Regions from separate parts of the Homo sapiens genome. Here all the other regions are linked to region 2. Evidence: promoter capture Hi-C in 16 types of primary human blood cells and fetal thymus (Javierre and others, 2016). All regions are on one chromosome and are shown on one strand. The core of a region is centred on a gene start or on the middle of the fragment in contact, and the rest is flanking DNA. Distances in the headings are between cores, read along the strand shown.

Evidence for each region. Contacts are between HindIII fragments. The CHiCAGO score rates a contact against its expected background, and 5 or more counts as called.
Region 1: a fragment that was not itself captured here is called in contact with the fragment with the promoter of FAM78A in region 2 in 9 of 17 cell types (megakaryocytes, naive CD4 T cells, total CD8 T cells and 6 more); the score reaches 8.6 in megakaryocytes.
Region 3: a contact is called between a fragment that was not itself captured here and the fragment with the promoter of FAM78A in region 2, in 3 of 17 cell types (megakaryocytes, erythroblasts and total CD8 T cells). The highest score is 9.9, in megakaryocytes.

Annotation. Positions count from the first base shown.
Region 1 is chr9:131,187,458-131,191,104 of GRCh38, forward strand. NUP214 (nucleoporin 214) reads left to right here. Exons shown (of 36, transcript NM_005085.4): 26 at 1,596-1,674. Among named protein-coding and RNA genes, the nearest start is that of NUP214, 64 kb to the left of the region's middle. The HindIII fragment of the contact is 1,078 bases long and covers 1,667-2,744 here.
Region 2 is chr9:131,274,939-131,278,139 of GRCh38, forward strand. FAM78A (family with sequence similarity 78 member A) reads right to left here and starts at 1,572. Exons shown (of 2, transcript NM_033387.4): 1 at 919-1,572. The coding sequence starts at 1,241. RefSeq lists enhancers at 52-111, 287-899, 312-361, 392-441, 602-1,101 and 2 more and a silencer at 1,742-2,921. The HindIII fragment of the contact is 5,571 bases long and covers 792-3,201 here.
Region 3 is chr9:131,169,283-131,172,972 of GRCh38, forward strand. All of the region lies in intron 21 of NUP214 (nucleoporin 214), which reads left to right. Among named protein-coding and RNA genes, the nearest start is that of NUP214, 46 kb to the left of the region's middle. The HindIII fragment of the contact is 5,166 bases long and covers 1-3,690 here.

The DNA.
Region 1 (3,647 bases), core at 956-3,455, 87 kb before region 2:
CTCACCGCAACCTCTGCCTCCTGGGTTCAAGTGATTCTCGTGGCTCAGCCTCCTGAGTAGTTGGGATTACAGGCACCCACCACCATGCCCAGTCAATTTTTGTAGTTTTAGTAGAGACGCGGTTTCACCGCGTTGGCCAGGCTAGTCTCGAGCTCCTGACCTCAGATGATCCATCTGCCTCGGCCTCCCAAAGTGCTGGGATTACAGGTGTGAGCCACCGTACCCGGCCTGAGTTTTACTTTTAACATTCATGCCGTGTCTGTCTTTGTAAGTGAAGACCATACTGTTTTTAAGTCTTGACTTTGTTTAAATGAACCATAAGTCTGATAAAGGCCCATAATCCCTTCCCCACAATTTATGCCAGTCTTGACATGGCTGTTAATCAGGGTAGGTCAGTCAGGACCTGATACTGTCTTCATAGGCCATTTAAACATTCTGCACCTAGTAATTTGGGGTCATAATTCTAATACCATACATTTTTATATGAAGTATTTTGCTTTGCAGTTTACTTTCACATTATCTCAGTTAACCCATACAACAGCCGTGTACAGTGGGAGGATAGGTGTTTAGATATGTCTCACTGGTGAGGCAGCCTAGGCTTGAGTGACCAACGCAAACTCTCACGATTAGTAAATGGTGGAACCAGAGCTGGGACCCAAGGCTTCTGACTTCCTCCTGTCCATTGCTCGTTTCACTACACAGTTGAGTATCAATGTCTGGGGTATAGGTTATCTGGTTTTCTCCTGCAATCCCTGTTTGTCAGAGTTTGCATATTTTTAGTGATGTTATGTCTAGCTTGTCTAGCTTCAGGCTTTTGCCTGATAAACATTGTCCCTTAGAAAAATAGGTGATATTGCAAACAGTTAAACAATCCAGAAAAAAGTGATAGGGGATGGTTGGAAGGTCAGTCAGGCTAGTGCTGAAACTCTTCCTAAGAAGTTCTGGTTTCTCTCACTACTCTTACATCTGTCTCTGAGATGAGTAGTTTGTGTTAGAGATCAGAATTTGAGACTGGATATCAGGACTTGCCTATTTAAGTTCTCAAACTTGCCTCTGTTCCTTAGTTTACCATAACTTAAAATGGCATTTAAGCATTTAGCATTCGATCTTTCTTCTGGAGGTATTTGTGTTCACCATGGAAAACACATGATAAGGCATAAGTCATGGCGAGTGAAGGAACATTGACTGGAGATGGATAAGTCAGTTTTGCTTTTAACCTTATTGTACATGCTTTGAGAGCTAGAACCATTTTATTAATTTACTCCTTCATTAATTCATCTACCTAATAGTCAAGTGCTTTTGATGTGCTAAGCACTGTGCTAGGCACTGGGAAGATAGCCATGAACTAGGCCAGTGTGACTGCCTTCTTGGAGCTTGCAGAGTATTTCTATTTTCATCCTTTAATATGATCTTACATATGGTTAACTTAAATTGAGACCTTTTTTTTGTTTCCTTTTTCTTTTTGGTAATTTATCTAAAAGTATTTGTCCTTGCTTATTTTAAATTATATTTTTGTGTTTACATTTTACATATTTCTTTGTTACAAAGAATGGTTAGTGGTTTAACATAAACATTTTGCTTGCATTCTGTTATAGGGGTCTCTAATAAATTCCCTTAAGCCATCTGGGCCTACACCAGCATCCGGTCAGTTATCATCTGGTGACAAAGCTTCAGGTCAGTTTGCATTTTTGTTTTCTTGAAAAGTGAAAGAAGCACTCCACAATAGGGGTTATTGTTCTGGATCACTGAGACAGTTGCCATAGGAAACAGGAGTCACATTTGATGAGATCGGGAGCATTCAGGGTAGTATGACCATAGACAAGAGATCATATTTGAAAGCCGTCAGCTAATGAAGAATTTCTAGAAAATTAGTATGCCCTTCAATGGCTATGTAGACTTCTGAAATTTTTAGGTTAGTTTGAAAATGATAGAGCAATAGGAGAAAAACCTCCCTTTAAATTCTTTTCCTAAAATGGAGCAATAGTATTATCTTTTTCTTCCTTGCTGGATGATCACAGTTGAGAGGAATGGATCAGAATGCTAAACGCTATTTCTTCCACTAAAAGGAATTAAAAATTCTGTTGGTCCACAGTGACAGTTCAAAAGCCTATAAGGTAGAGAAAGTGAAACAGATTTGTAAGATCTCAGAGTATATAATGAGTCGATATTATGAGATTTTATGGCTTCACGTAACTTCTCCTACACTCACTCAAGCATAATTATTCTTAATTTAGTTTTCACAGTAACCATGAGTGTTTTGACCAGACACTTTGTCCAAGTGTCATTGCCCAAACCAACTTTATGCAGAATGTGGGTCTTCCTCAGTGTCCCCTTTTGTTGGCTCCTTTATTATAGCCTACCTAATTTGGCGTGTATTACTTCCTGCTGCAAGGGTCTTGTGCTGTCTGCAATACTGAATTTTTACAACACTGTTGATTCTGGCATTTGTTTCAATCATGCTCTTAAGTGGGCCTTCAAGCAAATTCTGTTAGAAATTGAACTTCATACATTAGCAGCCTGCGTCTCATAATCTTAATCATACAGTCATTCTGACTTTCTCTGTAATCCCAAACTTTCTGATTGGATACTGGATTTATCTTTAGTAGCTATTCCTTGCAGAAGGAAGCCATTATTGCATAAGCCAGAGTTGTATTCTAGAATTCGGAGTGATATGGAACCACAGTTGGTATCATGTACGCCTCACATGAGAAGGAGGTATCTAGCACTTCTCGACCGGGGCCTAAAGCTTTATGTTAAAAGGAAAATTATATAGTAGAACTGTCAAAGACTTGAGTATTTTACAAAAAGGTTTTGAAAGATCATATACTCTTTTTTCAAGGACTTCATTGGAGAGGTTTTTGTCACTCTTGGAGTTAGAATCAAAGAAACCTAAGGAACTTTGCTTTATGCATGTCTGGGCAAGTAGTGTGACTTGCAAGAAATTTCCGAGATTCACCATTCATTGCTGATCATGAAATCCTCTCTTTTGTTACGAGGTGTTCACTTCTGTTTTCACTTGCCAGGTAATCAAGGTTTAGAAAAGAACTTTTTTCTTTTGGTAGGAAAACTTCCCTGAAAGGTGCTGCTTAAGAGTTTGCAAAAAGTTTCTTTTTGAAAAAGAGCATTTCTAAAACCTCTAGAGAATAGTTCTCTTATTAGTAATGGAAATACCTTCATTGTTTTTCTGATTGTAAAACTATTACATGCCCAGAAAAAGCCTATGGTGTAGAGATATATAATGTAGAATGTGAAAGCTGCCCTATAGATTCTGTATTCCAGAGATCATGATTTCATGTATATCTCTTGAGGTTACTTCATTGTTTTTTAAAGAAAAATATCCTATATACTGTATATCCTATATATATTGATTTTGTAACTTATTTCCCCTTCTCTGCCCCCTCTTACAATAAATGTCTTGGTCTCTGCAGGTCTGATACAGATCCACCTTACTCATTTTAAGAGCTGTCTACAACCTCATTGTGTAGTTATACCCTGTTAAATTTAACTAGTACTCTGCTGATGATTTAGATTGTGACTTTTCATCCTGTACATTTTACATTGTATATCAGTAGTTTTAAAAATATTTGTACTGCCATCTACCCTGTGTTTGTTTATTTTAGAAGGTTGGTGTTTTTTTTTTCTTGTTG
Region 2 (3,201 bases), core at 322-2,821:
CCAAAGGGTCCTTACGCTCAGAAACAGCTATTTTCACCATCCCTGTCTTAGGGTGAACCTTCAGATTAAGTCACTCTCCCAACTCTGCCTAAATGCAGCTCTTTTCACCCTGGGGACGGCCTTCTCTGGGGTCAGGAAGCAGGCCAGGAAAGGAGCCCCAGGGTCCCAGGGTCCTCACCGGGACCCCCAATACCCTAGGCACACTCTGGAGACCGGGCTTTGGGGCTGCAGAGGAGAGGCTCCTCTTTGCTGTTCCTGTTAGGGCCTCGCCAGAGGGACACTGGACTTGTCTGCATAAAGCGGTCTTCTGCCTTGGAGACAGAAAGCGATACACTGTGAAGAAATCGGGCTTCTAAAACTAACTGTGCTCTCAAACACAGTGCCGTTTGGAACGGGGAAGCACTCCCCCAGCTCCTGGCATACACTGGTAAAAGCCAGAAAGATAATTGAGGCCCAATCGCAAAGCCCTGAACACACCGGTCTGGGAGTTGCAGAGTGCCTGAATGTCTGCCATGGGCCCGCACAGGGCCAGAGGCCTGGAGGGCAGCCCTGCAGCCTCTCTGGTGACCCCTGATGGCACAGACACTCCTCAGGCGGACGGCACACTTGCTCTGCCAGGAAACACTGGGAGTAATGTCTCTCTGCTTTCTCGGCATCTTGCAGGGAAGGACACAGGAACCCGGGGGGAACAGTGGCAGGGTAGATTGCAGGACCGTGACTCCAATCTGGATCCACAGGCAAACTTTTCAGGGAGCCACCGGGCCAATGAGGCCACCTGCATACCTGCCTAAAGCTTCCCTCTGGCCTCCGTCCTGTCTTCATGGTATCTCCACCTTCCCCCTATCCGCGGCCCCCCACCAGGCCTCCAAGCTCGGCCATCCCTAGCAGTTCCCAGAGCTGGCTCTCGGCCGTACTCACATGCCCTGCTCGCCGTACTGGTTGTAGAACTCCATGTGGCTGCACGCCTGGATCCAGCCAACTACCCAAGTCTCCTTCTTGGGGATGGGCGGCATGACCACCTGGGCCGAGGCCCGGAAGTGGGGTGTCCGGTAGCGGAGCACCACGCTGGAGGACTCATCGATGCTAGTGGGGACGGGGTCGATGGAGGCTTTCACATCAATCACCGTGATCCCTTCCCGGAAGACTCTGGCTTTGCCTCCGATGCTCTGAATACAGCCCATGGCATACAGGAGCGCTCTGATCTCCAGGGAAGGCCAGCAGTCACAGAAAAAACCAGGCATTGAAAGGACAGAGGCTGCAGGACCCAGTACAGACGGCGCTGCTCTCCAATCTCAACTCTCAAGACCGATATCCATAGGATAGAAAACTCACTGAGTAGACTGGGGTTGCATATATCACTACCGCGGCCTGTTTATAAATAAGGATTCTGCTGCATTTCATGAGCCCTGGGCTCTCTCTTCTTCTCCTCGCAGTGGACAAAAATCACCGATATTCTTTGGGTTAAAAAAAGTTTGTAGTTTAATGAATAATTATGCGGTTCTGACATCCAGCCCTTCTGTGCCTCACACGCGGGGACGGCAGCTCGCAGACTCTCCCTGAAGTCTTCGGAGGAAGCAGGCGAGCGCCGGCAGACTCATAAATAAGGAAGGCTCTGTCCCCGCGCGGCCGCGCCACCCTCGCGGCAGAAGCCTGACTTCCTGCCCTCCGGCCTTCCGCACGCGCTCCCTCCGGGCCCCGCACCCGCACCCGCCCGGCGCGGTCGAATCAATTGCAGAGCAGTTTGTGTTCACCCGGCCGAGGTCCCGGCGCCCTCGGGGCGAGCGCCGACCCGCGGCTTCCAGGAGGCGAGCTCAGGGCTCCGGCCGCTCGCCGGTGACGGGGGAGCGCGGCGCGGGTCCCCGTCGGCGCCCACTCGCGGGCGCGGGCCGGACGTCCCCACGCAGGGGCGCCGCGTCCCTTCGCCGCTGTCGCTGCCGGCCGCCGTGCAGGGTCCCGGGGCTGCGCTCCGGCCGCCGCCGCCTGCTTCGCCGCGGCCGCCGAGGACCTGGTGGGAGGTGGAAGGGACAGCGCGTCAAGGCCAGCCTCAAAGTTAAGCCGAACTTTGCTGCGGGGGGCGCGCGGGGGCGGCGACGCGTGTGCGCTGGGCGCGGGCTGCGGAGCTGACGGCGCAGCTCTGGGCGGTCTCCCCGGAGGCGGTGGCCCCCGCCCCCCGCGCCCGCCCCGTCAGTGGCGGCCGCACGACCGCGCGCACCAGCGAATAATAGCCGCCCGTGACATCTCCGCTGATACCGTCCCGGACGGGCGGGGTGGGGGGCGAGCGGCTGCCGCTGCAGGGGGCGGCGAGCACTTGCCCTGCTCTGTCCCCACCGCCGCGCCGCCAGCGCCAGGTGCCCCTTCCCCACCCCGGTCCCTCCGGCTCCCTGGGCGCAGGGCCACCCACCAGTGCCGTCGGATCCGGCGGGCACCCCTTTCCCGGCTGGGGTCCCTCGGCCCTCGGAGGGCATAGTGCCCCCGCTCCGCCGCGTCAAGCGCCTCTGTCGCCCCTCTCCAGCCGCGAGCAGCCCCGGGTCCCCACGCGTCGGGCGCGCTCGCCGCTGCCGGGGAACTTTGGCGCGCACGCCCCCACTCGGGCGGCGCCGCCGACTCACCTGCCCCGGGGGCCACTCCGCTGGCCCGGGCAGCCGCTCTCCGGACGCCCCTGACCCGGCCGCGGGCACGTTCTTGGGGCGCCCCCACCCCCTTCCCCGGGCACTGTCCCTTGGCTCTACTGGAGTCTGGGGCCGGCGTGGGCGCCCCCGGCCCCCACCCTCCTCCCGGCTTGGGGCTTCGGGGGGGCGGCCGGGGGCGGAGGGCTGAGGCTCGGGGCTCTCTCGCCCCCACCCCGCGCGCCTCCTTTATTTTATGATCATTGTGAGCGCGCTGTCGCCGCTCAGCCCCGCCGCCGCGCCGCTGCCGCCTGGCGCGCCCCGCGCTGCCTCGCTCTGCTGCAGCATCGGAAAGGCAACCGGGTCAAACTTTGCAGAAACTCGGCCCCTGCGCCGGCCCGGCCCCCGCGTCCGCTCGCCGCCGCCGCCGGCCGAGCGCAGCCGGCGCACGCAGGGACCGCCGCCCGCTCGCCGGCCCCGCGGGGATGCAGGTCCGCAGGCGGCGGCGGCGGCGGCGGGCGGGCGCCGCCTCCTCCTCCCCGCCCGCCTGGCTCTCCACCCTCGCTCCCCGCACACAGCCCGCCCTCCCCCTGGT
Region 3 (3,690 bases), core at 547-3,046, 110 kb before region 2:
CTCAGACTCCCAAAGTGCTCGGATTACAGGTGTGAGCCACCACGCCCAGCCTCTGCTTACATTTAAATTAAATAAAATTGCAAGGCAAGGTGGTGCATGCCTGTAATCCCAGCTGTTTTGAGGAGGCTGAGGCAGGAGGATCACTTGAGCCCAAGAGTTCGAGGCCAGCCTGGGAAAGGAGTGGTGAGACCCTGTCTCAGATAAATATATAAATTTTAAAAAGAAAAATAAGTAACATTTAAAATTTAGTTTTGCAATCCCAGTAGCCACATTTCAAGTGCTCAGTAGGCACATGTGACTAATGGCTACTGTAATGGCAAACACGTATAAAGAACATTTCATCATTGCAGAAAGTTCTACAATTCAGAGTAGGGGTTGGCAGATTTTTCTGTAAGGGGCCAGCTGGAGAATAGTTGAGGTTTGCAGGTGCTGTGGTTTCCATTGCACCTACCTAACTCTGCTGTTGTAATGGGAAAGCAGCCACAGACCATGTGATGAGAGGGGCATGTCTGTGTTTCAGCAAAACTTTATATTTCTGCAAAGAGACAGCTGGTCTATGGTTGTAGTTTTCTGACTCCTGCTCTAGAATGTTTTGCCTTTCTTGGTGTTTTACATTTTCATATTAACCTTAAAATTGTCTTGTTAAATTCTACCTCCCTGTACCTAGAGTAGTCAAAACTATAGAGACAGAACTAGAATGGTGGCTGCCGGAAGCTGGAGGAGGGAAAATGGGGAGTTAGTGTTTCATGGGGATGAAGTTTCAGTTCGGGAAGATGAAAACGTTCTGGAGATAGATGGTAGTCACGGTTATACAACATTAGGAATGTATTTATGCCATGGAACTGTACACTTTAAAATGTGACTATGGTGCATTTTATGTCATGTATATTTTACCACAATAAAAAAATAAATAAATAAAAAAGAAGGGAGGCAGGAGAATCGCTTGAACCCGGGAGGCAGAGGTCGCAGTGAGCCGAGATCATGCCGTTGCACTCCAGCTTGGGCAACAAGAGCGAAACTCCGTCTTTAAAAAAAGAAAGTTTTGGGGGAGGAATTTTGCCTTCCTCAGCCTTCAAAGGAAAGTTGAGATTTTGATTGGAATTGTATTGAGTCTCTAGATCAACTTGAGAATTGACATTTGTGCAGTAGTGAACTCTCAGTTCCTGAACTGGGTACATATTTGTATATTTGGGTGTTCTTTAATTTCTCTTAATGTTTTCTGCGTGGGAGACATGCACATCTTTTGTTAGATTAATTGCTAAAAATTTAATTGCAAAAATTTGTTGCTCTTATAATGGTAGATTTTTTTTCCTTAAATTTTATGGTTTATGTTGGATGTAGTATCGAGAAATACCATTGATTTATGTGTATTTACTTACAGCCAACAACCTGGCAGAATTCATTTATTCTAACACGTCTGTAGCTGTTTCTTGGCCTTGTAACTATGGAAACAATGAAATCCTCCATGGATACTAATGGTGACGTTTCTGCCTTTCCAGTCCTTTTGTTATTATTATTATCATTATTATTATTATTATTATTTTACCTTACTTCACTGGCTAGAACCTCCAGTGCAGCGTAAAAGTGTCGTGTAGCTCTCCTTGATCTCAAAAGGAGCACTTTCTATAGTTCATCCTAAGATGTGAGGTTTGCTGCATCTACTGAGATGATCATATGACTTTCTATCCTTTTGTCTCCCCACCCTCCCTGCCCTCAGTCATGTAGCTTTCTACCTTTCCTTATCTGACGTAGAGTGTAAACAGAATAAGATTCTTTAAATTTCAGTGGGACGCTCTTTCTAATGCCAGGCAGTTAGCTGCATCCTTGATCACAGCAGAGAGCAGCACCCATTAATGGTGGAGGCAGCACCATTGGCATAGTGAGCAGTCCATGCCCCATGCTTCTGTGAGTGAGCATGCCCATTGCATCTTTCAGTTGATGGGGTTCCTCCACCGAAGGCAGGTAAATTGCCTCAGAAAGGTGAAGGAAGGAACTAAGAGTACCTTCATGTTACATAGGACCTTGGAGGTTACATAGTTATTCCAGTGTCTCTTTCTGTCTAGTTCTTGAAGGTGATGTGATTATTTGAGTCATCTTTTATTGTTACTATCAGGAACTACAATAGGATTTTGGAGAAATTATGGAGAGAAATTTGGCCCCAAGAAAACATGGGTTTGTATTAGTTTCCTATGGATGCCGTAACAAATTATCACAAACCTAGCGGCTTAAAACAGTACCTAGTTGTTATCTCACAGGAAGATTTTCTTTTTTTTTTTTTTTTTTGTTATACTTTAAGTTTTAGGGTACATGTGCACAATGTGCAGGTTAGTTACATATGTATACATGTGCCATGCTGGTGTGCTGCACCCATTAACTTTTCATTTAGCCTTAGGTATATCTCCTAATGCTATCCCTCCCTCCTCCCCGCACCCCACAACAGTCCCCAGAGTGTGATATTCCCCTTCCTGTGTCCATGTGTTCTCATTGTTCAATTCCCACCTGTGAGTGAGAACATGCGGTGTTTGGTTTTTTGTCCTTGCAATATTTTACTGAGAATGATGATTTCCAATTTCATCCATGTCCCTACAAAGGACATGAACTCATCATTTTTTATGGCTGCATAGTATTCCATGATGTATATGTGCCACATTTTCTTAAACCAGTCTATCATTGTTGGACATTTGGGTTGGTTCCAAGTCTTTGCTATTGTGAATAGTGCCGCAATAAACATACGTATGCATGTGTCTTTATAGCAGCATGATTTATAGTCCTTTGGGTATATACCCAGTAATGGGATGGCTGGGTCAAATGGTATTTCTAGTTCTAGATCCCTGAGGAATCGCCACACTGACTTCCACAATGGTTGAACTAGTTTACAGTCCCACCAACAGTGTAAAAGTGTTCCTATTTCTCCACATCCTCTCCAGCACCTGTTGTTTCCTGACTTTTTAATGATTGCCATTCTAACTGGCGTGAGATGGTATCTCATTGTGGTTTTGATTTGCATTTCTCTGATGGCCAGTGATGGTGAGCATTTTGTCATGTGTTTTTTGGCTGCATAAATGTCTTCTTTTGAGAAGTGTCTGTTCATGTCCTTCACCCACTTTTGGATGGGGTTGTTTGTTTTTTCCTTGTAAATTTGTTTGAGTTCATTGTAGATTCTGGATATTAGCCCTTTGTCAGATGAGTAGGTTGTGAAAATTTTCTCCCATTTTGTAGGTTGCCTGTTCACTCTGATGGTAGTTTCTTTTGCTGTCTCACAGGAAGATTTTCTGTGATGATGGAAATGTTCTGTATCTTTGTTGTCCAACAGGGTAGCTACTAGCCACATGTGGCTGTAGAGGACATGAAATGTGGATAGTGCAATCGAGGAATTGATTTTTCATTAATTTGCTTTTGATTACTTTAAATTTAAATAACCACATATGGCTACTGGCTACCAAATTGGCTAAGACAGCCGTAGCACATAGCATTGGTTTTTAGTGGCATTTGTTTATGTTATACTTACATTATGACAATAAAATCTTGCAGAGCCATGTGCACATGGGACACAAAAGTCAATAAATATTTGCAGAGCCATTTTAAATAACTTGGGGAGGGAAGAAAAAGGGCTAGATTATTTTGTTTGGTTTTTGTTTTTTCCAATATACAGGAAGTATTCACTTGCATTCTGAAATTTATGATAGAAAG